Regions from separate parts of the Homo sapiens genome. Here all the other regions are linked to region 2. Evidence: promoter capture Hi-C in human tissues and cell types (Jung and others, 2019). All regions are on one chromosome and are shown on one strand. Each heading gives the region's core, a stretch centred on a gene start or on the middle of the fragment in contact. The rest is flanking DNA. Distances are from core to core; before and after follow the strand shown. Region 1 has its middle 6.8 kb from the start of GRTP1. Region 2 holds the start of F7 (coagulation factor VII). Region 3 has its middle 26 kb from the start of GRTP1.

What was found. The method cuts DNA at HindIII sites, captures the fragments that hold promoters and counts their contacts. A contact is called where the count stands out against the background at its distance.
Region 1: a contact is called between a fragment that was not itself captured here and the fragment with the promoter of F7 in region 2, in 3 of the 25 tissues and cell types used here (dorsolateral prefrontal cortex, heart right ventricle and spleen).
Region 3: a contact is called between a fragment that was not itself captured here and the fragment with the promoter of F7 in region 2, in 2 of the 25 tissues and cell types used here (heart left ventricle and lymphoblastoid cells).

The regions. Positions count from the first base shown.
Region 1 is chr13:113,369,570-113,372,269 of GRCh38, forward strand. No RefSeq gene overlaps it. Among named protein-coding and RNA genes, the nearest start is that of GRTP1, 6.8 kb to the left of the region's middle. The HindIII fragment of the contact is 8,985 bases long and covers 1-2,700 here.
Region 2 is chr13:113,104,499-113,107,198 of GRCh38, forward strand. F7 (coagulation factor VII) reads left to right here and starts at 1,293. Exons shown (of 8, transcript NM_019616.4): 1 at 1,293-1,407. The coding sequence starts at 1,344. The HindIII fragment of the contact is 23,631 bases long and covers 1-2,700 here.
Region 3 is chr13:113,388,522-113,391,270 of GRCh38, forward strand. No RefSeq gene overlaps it. Among named protein-coding and RNA genes, the nearest start is that of GRTP1, 26 kb to the left of the region's middle. The HindIII fragment of the contact is 4,940 bases long and covers 1-2,749 here.

The DNA.
Region 1 (2,700 bases), core at 192-2,691, 270 kb after region 2:
AGGACACGTGACTCCTGGCTGTGCCCGCTAAGCCGTGTTCAGCAATCCTGGTGGTTTTTAATTTATTTTTATATATTTTTTGAGACGGAGTCTCGCTCTGTCGCCCAGGCTGGAGGGCAGTGGCGCGATCGGGTTCCTGCCATTCTCCTGCCTCAGCCTCCCGAGTAGCTGGGACTACAGGCGCCCGCCACCACGCCCGGCTAATTTTTTTGTATTTTTAGTAGAGACGGGGTTTCACCGTGTTAGCCAGGATGGTCTCGATCTCCTGACCTCATGATCCTCCCACCTCAGCCTCCCAAAGTGCCGGGATTACATGCGTGAGCCACTGCACCCGGCCTATAACCCTGGTGGTTTTATGGCCGTCAAAGGGCAGCAGGCTTGACCCAGCCCCTATTCAGGACCCTCCCAATCTCAGGGACCACTGCTATCAGCCTCTGGGAGGTTGCCAGTGCGGGAGGCCCACCTTAAGGATGGTCACCTCAGGGCCTCTCTTGTAGGGGTTCTGTCCGAGAAGGCCTCTGAAGAAGGAAAGCACGTTGAGGGGGATGGCAGGGCAAGGTGCAGGCTGCAGGCTCTCCTGGAGTGGGGCAGCTCCCGGCCACCCCGGGCTCCCTCAGGAAGCAAGAGGCTGACTCGGAGGCGGCTTTAAAGTCAGGCTCTTCCAGTTGCTTTGCCTCTTTCATTTTTTCAGAATTTTTTTTTTTTTTGAGACGGAGTCTCGCTGTCACCCAGGCTGGAGTGCAGTGGCGCGATCTCGGCTCACTGCAAGCTCTGCCTCCCGGGTTCAAGCGATTCTCCTGCCTCAGCCTCCCGAGCAGTTGGGACTACAGGCGCCCGCCACCACCCCCGGCTAATTTTTTTTGTATTTTTAGTAGAGACAGGGTTTCACCGTGTTAGCCAGGATGGTCTGGATCTCCTGACCTCGTGATCCGCCCGCCTCAGCCTCCCAAAGTGCTGGGATTACAGGCGTGAGCCACCGCGCCTGGCCCATTTTTTCAGATTTTTGAACATCGGGTATTTTGCTAGGCTCTGGGTATGTGGGGGCTTACAATTTGGTTTAGGAGAAAATTTTAAGAGTGCTACCCATAAGCAGGTGCTATTTTCATAGTAGATAACAGGAACATTTTTATGAAATGTTGCAATACAATATGGCATTGCATAAAAACCGCAATAAAGTTCTGTGAGAATGAGGCCGCTGGTGGCTCACACCTGTAATCCCAGCACTTTGGGTGGATGAGGTGGGTGGATCACATGAAGTCAGGAGTTCGAGACTAGCCTGGCCAACATGTTGAAACCCTGTCTCTACTAAAAATACAAAAATTAGCCAGGCGTGGTGGCGGGAGCCTGTAACCCCAGCTACTTGGGAGGCTGAGGCAGGAGAATTGCTTGAACCTGGGAGGTGGAGGTTGCAGTGAGGCGAGATCAGCCTGGGAGACAGAGCCAGACTCCATCTCCATCTCCAAAAAAAACCACAACAACAACAAAAAACTGCTTTGCGAGAATGAGAGACGGAGCAAATCGTCTCCGGGCCATCCAGGAAGCCTTCAGGAAGCGATGTTTGTTCGGAGCGGGCGGTCCCACCTGAGCCTGCTCTAGCCTGACTGCCAAGCCCTGAAGGGCCCAGTGTAGGGCCAGGGCAGGAAGCTTGGTGGGGGCTGTGGTTGCTCCCCACCCCCTTCCCCTCTTCTCCCTTCCCCAGTGGAGCCCGCACAGTGCAGCGCTGCACATGCCCCAGGGATGCTGTGGCGAGGGGCTGCCGGCCGGGCTGGGCTGGATGGTGGGAATTCATTCTCTCCCCTTCTTCAGGCCCAGGGCTGGCTCTTCCTGAGGCCCCTCCCTCCTCCTGAGGTCTCCCTCCCTCCTCCTGAGACCCCCTCCCTCCTCCTGAGACCCCCTCCCTCCTCCTGAGGCCCCTCCCTCCTCCTGAGACCCCCTCCCTCCTCCTGAGGCCCCCTCCCTCCTCCTGAGACCCCCTCCCTCCTCCTGAGGCCCCCTCCCTCCTCCTGAGACCCCCTCCCTCCTCCTGAGGCCCCCTCCCTCCTCCTGAGACCCCCTCCCTCCTCCTGAGGCCCCCTCCCTCCTCCTGAGACCCCCTCCCTCCTCCTGAGGCCCCCTCCCTCCTCCTGAGACCCCCTCCTTCCTCCTGAGGCCCCTCCCTCCTCCTGAGACCCCCTCCCTCCTCCTGAGACCCCCTCCCTCCTCCTGAGACCCCTCCCTCCTCCTGAGGCCCCTCCATCCTCCTGAGGCCCCTCCCTCCTCCTGAGGTCTCCCTCCCTCCTCCTGAGACCCCCTCCCTCCTCCTGAGGCCCCCTCCCTCCTCCTGAGGCCCCTCCCTCCTCCTGAGGTCCCCCTCCTTGGCTGGCAGTGTCTTCTCCCCATGTCCTCACTGTCATGCTCCGGTGTGCCTGCGCCCTAATCTCCTCCTCTTATGAGGACACCAGACAGGTTGGCTCAGGGACCACGGGAATGACCTCACTGTACCTTAAGGACATCCTTATTTCTTTTTATTTTTGTTTGTTTTATTTTTTATTTTTTATTTTTATTTATTTATTTATTTTTTTTGAGACGGAGTCTCGCTCTGTCGCCCAGGCTGGAGTGCAGTGGCGGGATCTCGGCTCACTGCAAGCTCCGCCTCCCGGGTTCAGGCCATTCTCCTGCCTCAGCCTCCCGAGTAGCTGGGACTACAGGCACCTGCCACCA
Region 2 (2,700 bases), core at 43-2,542:
CTGTCGGCCCCTCAGCAAGTGCTCTGCTCTCTGGACTGAGATGCAGGTCAGCAGCAAGCAGGGAGGCTTTGGGGGTGCTGGGGGCTGCTTTGAAAGGCACCCCTGAGCTAAGACTTGGCTGTTGGGAAGGAATCACCTCCCTCCCTCCAGCCGTAAAAAGAACTGGACATCAGCTTCCAAAGAAGTCATCAGCAATGCAACTGTTCACATGGAGGATACTCCCTGCTTGAGGGGTCAGACAGGCCTGCTGGGCAACCCAGGAGGCTTGGATGACCGTCTACCCCAGTGTTTTTGGGATGGAAAGTTCCACATTCTGAGAACCCTCAGTCCCTGGGCAACCTGGGGTGGTTAGTCACCACAGCTTGTGGCTTGGGCCCATGACAGCAGGTAGAAATGACGTGGACTGCCGCCAGCCGGGCACAGTGGCTCACGCCTGTAATCCCAGCACTTTGGGAGGCTGAGGCATGTGGATCACTTGAGGTCAGGAGTTCGAAACCAGCCTGGTCAACACGGTGAAACCCCATCTCTGCTAAAAAAAAAAAATATATATATATAAATTAGCCAGGCATGGTGACGTGCACCTGTGGTCCCAGCTACTCAGGAGGCTGAGGCACAAGAATCACTTGAACCCGGGAGGTGGAGGTTGCAGTGAGATTGCACCAGTGCACTCTCCAGCCTGGCAACAGAGCAAGACTCTGTCTCAAACAAACAAAACAAAACAAACAAAAAGACGTAAGATGTGGACCGCTGGAGAATGGGGGTGCTGCCTGCAGTCAAAACGGAGTGGGGGTGCCCAGCTCAGGGCCAGAATGATCCTATTCCCGGCACTTCTCAGTGAGGCTCTGTGGCTCACCTAAGAAACCAGCCTCCCTTGCAGGCAACGGCCTAGCTGGCCTGGTCTGGAGGCTCTCTTCAAATATTTACATCCACACCCAAGATACAGTCTTGAGATTTGACTCGCATGATTGCTATGGGACAAGTTTTCATCTGCAGTTTAAATCTGTTTCCCAACTTACATTAGGGGTTTGGAATTCTAGATCGTATTTGAAGTGTTGGTGCCACACACACCTTAACACCTGCACGCTGGCAACAAAACCGTCCGCTCTGCAGCACAGCTGGGGTCACCTGACCTTTCTCCTGTCCCCCCCACTTGAGCTCAGTGGCTGGGCAGCAGGGGATGCATGGCCACTGGCCGGCCAGGTGCAGCTCTCAGCTGGGGTGTTCAGAGGACGCCTGTGTCCTCCCCTCCCCCATCCCTCTGTCACCCTTGGAGGCAGAGAACTTTGCCCGTCAGTCCCATGGGGAATGTCAACAGGCAGGGGCAGCACTGCAGAGATTTCATCATGGTCTCCCAGGCCCTCAGGCTCCTCTGCCTTCTGCTTGGGCTTCAGGGCTGCCTGGCTGCAGGTGCGTCCGGGGAGGTTTTCTCCATAAACTTGGTGGAAGGGCAGTGGGCAAATCCAGGAGCCAGCCCGGGCTTCCCAAACCCCGCCCTTGCTCCGGACACCCCCATCCACCAGGAGGGTTTTCTGGCGGCTCCTGTTCAATTTCTTTCCTTCTAGAAACCAGCATCCAGGCACAGGAGGGGAGGCCCTTCTTGGTGGCCCAGGCTTTGGCGGGATTATTTTTCAAAGAACTTTAGGAGTGGGTGGTGCTTTCCTGGCCCCCATGGGCCCCTGCCTGTGAGGTCGGACAAGCGCAGGGAGTCTGGGGCCTCTCAGAGTGCAGGAAGTGCGCACAGGGTGCTCCCAGGCTGGGGAGCACAGGTAGGGGACGGTGCGTGGGGGATGGCGCCTGGGGCATGGGGGATGGGGTGTGGGAAACGGCATGTGGGGCGTAGGGGATGGGGTGTGGAGGATCGGGGGTGGGGATGGCGTGTGGGGTGTGGGGGATGGGCCGTGGGGGGGTGGGGCCTGGGAAACAGCATGTGGGGCATGGGGTGTGGGGGTGAGGTGTGGGAAAGTGTGTGGGGTGTGGGGGATGGGGCATGGAAAGGGCGTGTGGGGTGCAGGGGATGGGGCATGGAGGTGTGGGGGATGGGGTGTGTGGGGTGTCGGGGATGGGGCATGTGGGGTGTGGGGGATGGGGCATGGAAAGGGCGTGTGGGGTGCAGAGGATGGGGCATGGGGGGGTGGGGATGGCGAGTGGGGCTGGGGCCTGGGAATGGTGAGTGGGGCATGGGGATGGCGAGTAGGGGGTGTGGCGTGAGGATGGCTAGTGGGGCGTGGGGATGGCGTGTGGGGATGGCGAGTGGGGGGTGGGCTGTGAGGGACAGTGCCTGGGATGTGGGGCTGCAGCCCTAGCTCACAGCATGGCCTTATGACCCCGGCCACCTTCCTGCCCCAGGCGGGGTCGCTAAGGCCTCAGGAGGAGAAACACGGGACATGCCGTGGAAGCCGGGGCCTCACAGAGGTGAGCAGGGACTGCCACTGGTTTTGTCCTGGGGCCCAGTGGGGGCCAACATCACCTCCTTCCCCTCCCATGGCAAAGAGCCAGCCCGCGGGGTGGCTACTGCAGTGCCCCCCAAGGAGGGTGTTCCCTGCTCGAGAGGAAGTGACCGCTCCAGCTTGGCCTTCCCTGGGACTGGGGTGCAGGCGATTTTATCTTCTTTGCTCCATTCTGTTCCTTCCAGATAATCGTGTGTTCTTCATCAGGTTTTCCTCAGTTCTTGAGAGCTTTTCTGATGCAAATCTGCTTTCA
Region 3 (2,749 bases), core at 188-2,687, 280 kb after region 2:
AAATTTTGTATGCCACAGAAGTAATCAAATTTCCTTATCAGTTGTGGCTTTAATGATGGCTGTCCGAAGATGTTTTGTCATCCACAAACAATGGTTGTCTTGTTTTGGTCCTCTTTAGAAGGTGGTTTATAATCAGCTACAGGACTTTGACAGATGTTCTTGAGTGCAGGTTTCCGATAACTGGTGATGGTGACATCAGAATAGAGGAAAAAACTTTTAGAATTCTTATGGAGAGCTGAAATGTCCATGAATATCAAACAGAAGTTAACTACATGGACTAAACTAATAGAAACCAGAAGTAATCTTTTTAACTTTTTGCTTAAAATATTGCTGATCCTTTGTTTTGTTTTTCAGAATCAAGGAAACTTTTGAGCGAGTTATAGCTTTTAACAATTGAATAAGTATACTTGTATGAATAAAATTTGGAGCATATTTGTTTCTCTCTACCTAATTTCTCCAAAATTTGGGAACTAGTTGTGAGTATTCTTAATTTATGGCAATATAGCTATTTGCATAAGTGCAATAAGAATCTGTTTTCTTTTTTTTTTTTTTTTTTGAGACAGAGTCTTGCTCTGTTGCCCAGGCTGGAGTGCAATGGTATGATCTCGGCTCACTGCAACCTCCGCCTCCCAGGTTCAAGCAATTCTCCTGTCTCTGCCTCCCAAGTAGCTGGGATTACAGGTGCCAGCCACCACACCTGGCTAATTTTTGTATTTGTAGTAGAGATGAGGTTTCACCATGTTGGCCAGGCTGGTCTTGAACTCTTGACCTCAGGTGGTCTGCCTGCCTCGGCCTCCCAAAGCGCTGGGATTACAGGTGTGAGCCACTGTGCCTGGCCAGGAATCTGTTTTCTTTTGCAACAGGACACAATTGGAGAAACTGCTTATTTTACCAAGGATTTGACTAGAATGATGTGTTTTCCTTTAAGAAATTAAACGTGACTTATAGAGCTGATAAAGCCCCTTGGGAAAACTGACCTGATACGTTCTCTCCACAGTCCTTATACAGAGTTCCTGACCCGTGGTAAGTAAAGAATGTCACTTTATGCTGGGTGCGGTGGCTCATGCCTGTAATCCCAGCACTTTGAGAGGCTGAGGCGGGTGGATCATGAGGTCAGGAGATTGAGACCATCTTGGCTAAGATGGTGAAACCCTGTCTCTACTAAAAATACAAAAAATTAGCGGGGCATGGTGGCGGGCACCTGTAGTCCCACCTATTCAGGAGGCTGAGGCAGGAGAATGGCATGAACCCGGGGGGGCGGAGCTTGCAGTGAGCAGAGATCATGCCACTGCACTCCAGCCTGGGCAACAGAGCGAGATTCGGTCTCAAAAAAAAAAAAAGTCACTTTCTCACAGGCCCAGGAGCCCCAAGTTATCTTGGAAACTCAAGAGGAGAGAAATTTACTCAACTTACAGGTATTTGAGGGTACAAACCCATGGCGGGGCTCAGTTCTAAAAGAGTCTTAGCTAAGATTCCTTCTACGGAACAGAGTTCCATCAAAGCCAATTTAAAAAGAACCTATGTGAAAAATATTCTTGCTGCCCTTTATACAAATAATCAGGCCAAGTATAATAAAGTAAATCAGTCTTACCATGATTTGCCTTTAGTAAAAATGGGAAACTAGAGAGAGAAATATTATGTTTCAGGAACTGTGGTATGTTGTTTTTAAATTCTAGTCTCATCAGTTGTTTTTAGATTTGCTTCTGGAATTTAGGCTAACCTTGCTTATTCCTGTGAACCAACCAGTGAACTCTGACTGCTGCTCAGAAGAAATAAGAGGGATGGGTAATGTAAAAATCTGAATCAATATTCTAATTCTGGGCACACTAGAATTGGCTAGCAACCTCACATCATCTTGGTTCCAATAGTTGCCCAGTTCATGAAAAGCCTTCTAATTTAGTTTACTTGGAATAATTGTACTTATTTTGCTTTACTATTGTGGAATATATTGTTGTTGTACTCTGTGTAGGTATGCAAAATAAACTTGCTCAATGTTTTCTTAAACTGAACACTTATTAATTGCCCAGATATCACCTTTTGTTGGAACTTAAGAGTTATGAATAGCCCTCACCACACTGATGCCTTCTGACTGTGCTCCTCTCTACCCTGAACACAAGGGACCCTAATAGTTAGGCAGGAATGTCATCGCCCCTATTCAGCCTGAAGAAGTTACAGAAGATGGATCTTCATCCCCCTGCAACTCTTAGGATTAAGGGTTCTCTTATAAAAGGGAAAGAGAAAATGTCAGGCATGTTTGAACCAGAGCAACTCCATCTTGAGTAGGAGCTGGGTAAAATGAGGCTGAGACCTATTGGACGGCATTCCCAGGAAGTGAGACATTCTAAGTCACAGGATGAGATAGGAGATTGGCACAAGATATAGATCATAAAGACCTTGCTGATAAGACAGGTTGCAGCAAAGAAGCCGGCCAAACCCACCAAAACCAAAATGGCCACAAGAGTGACCTCTGGTCATCCTCACTGCTACACTCCCACCAGCTCCGTGACAGTTTACAGATGCCATGGCAACGTCAGGAAGTTACCCTATATGGTCTAAAAAGGGGAGCATGAATAATCCACCCCTTGTTTAGCATATCATCAAGAAATCACCATAAAAATGGGCAACCAGCAGCCCTCAGCTGCTCGCCTATGGAGTAGCCATTCTTTATTTCTTTATTTTCTTAATAAACTGGTTTCACTTGTCTCTATGGACTCGCTCTGAATTCTTTCTTGCGCGAGATCCAAGAACG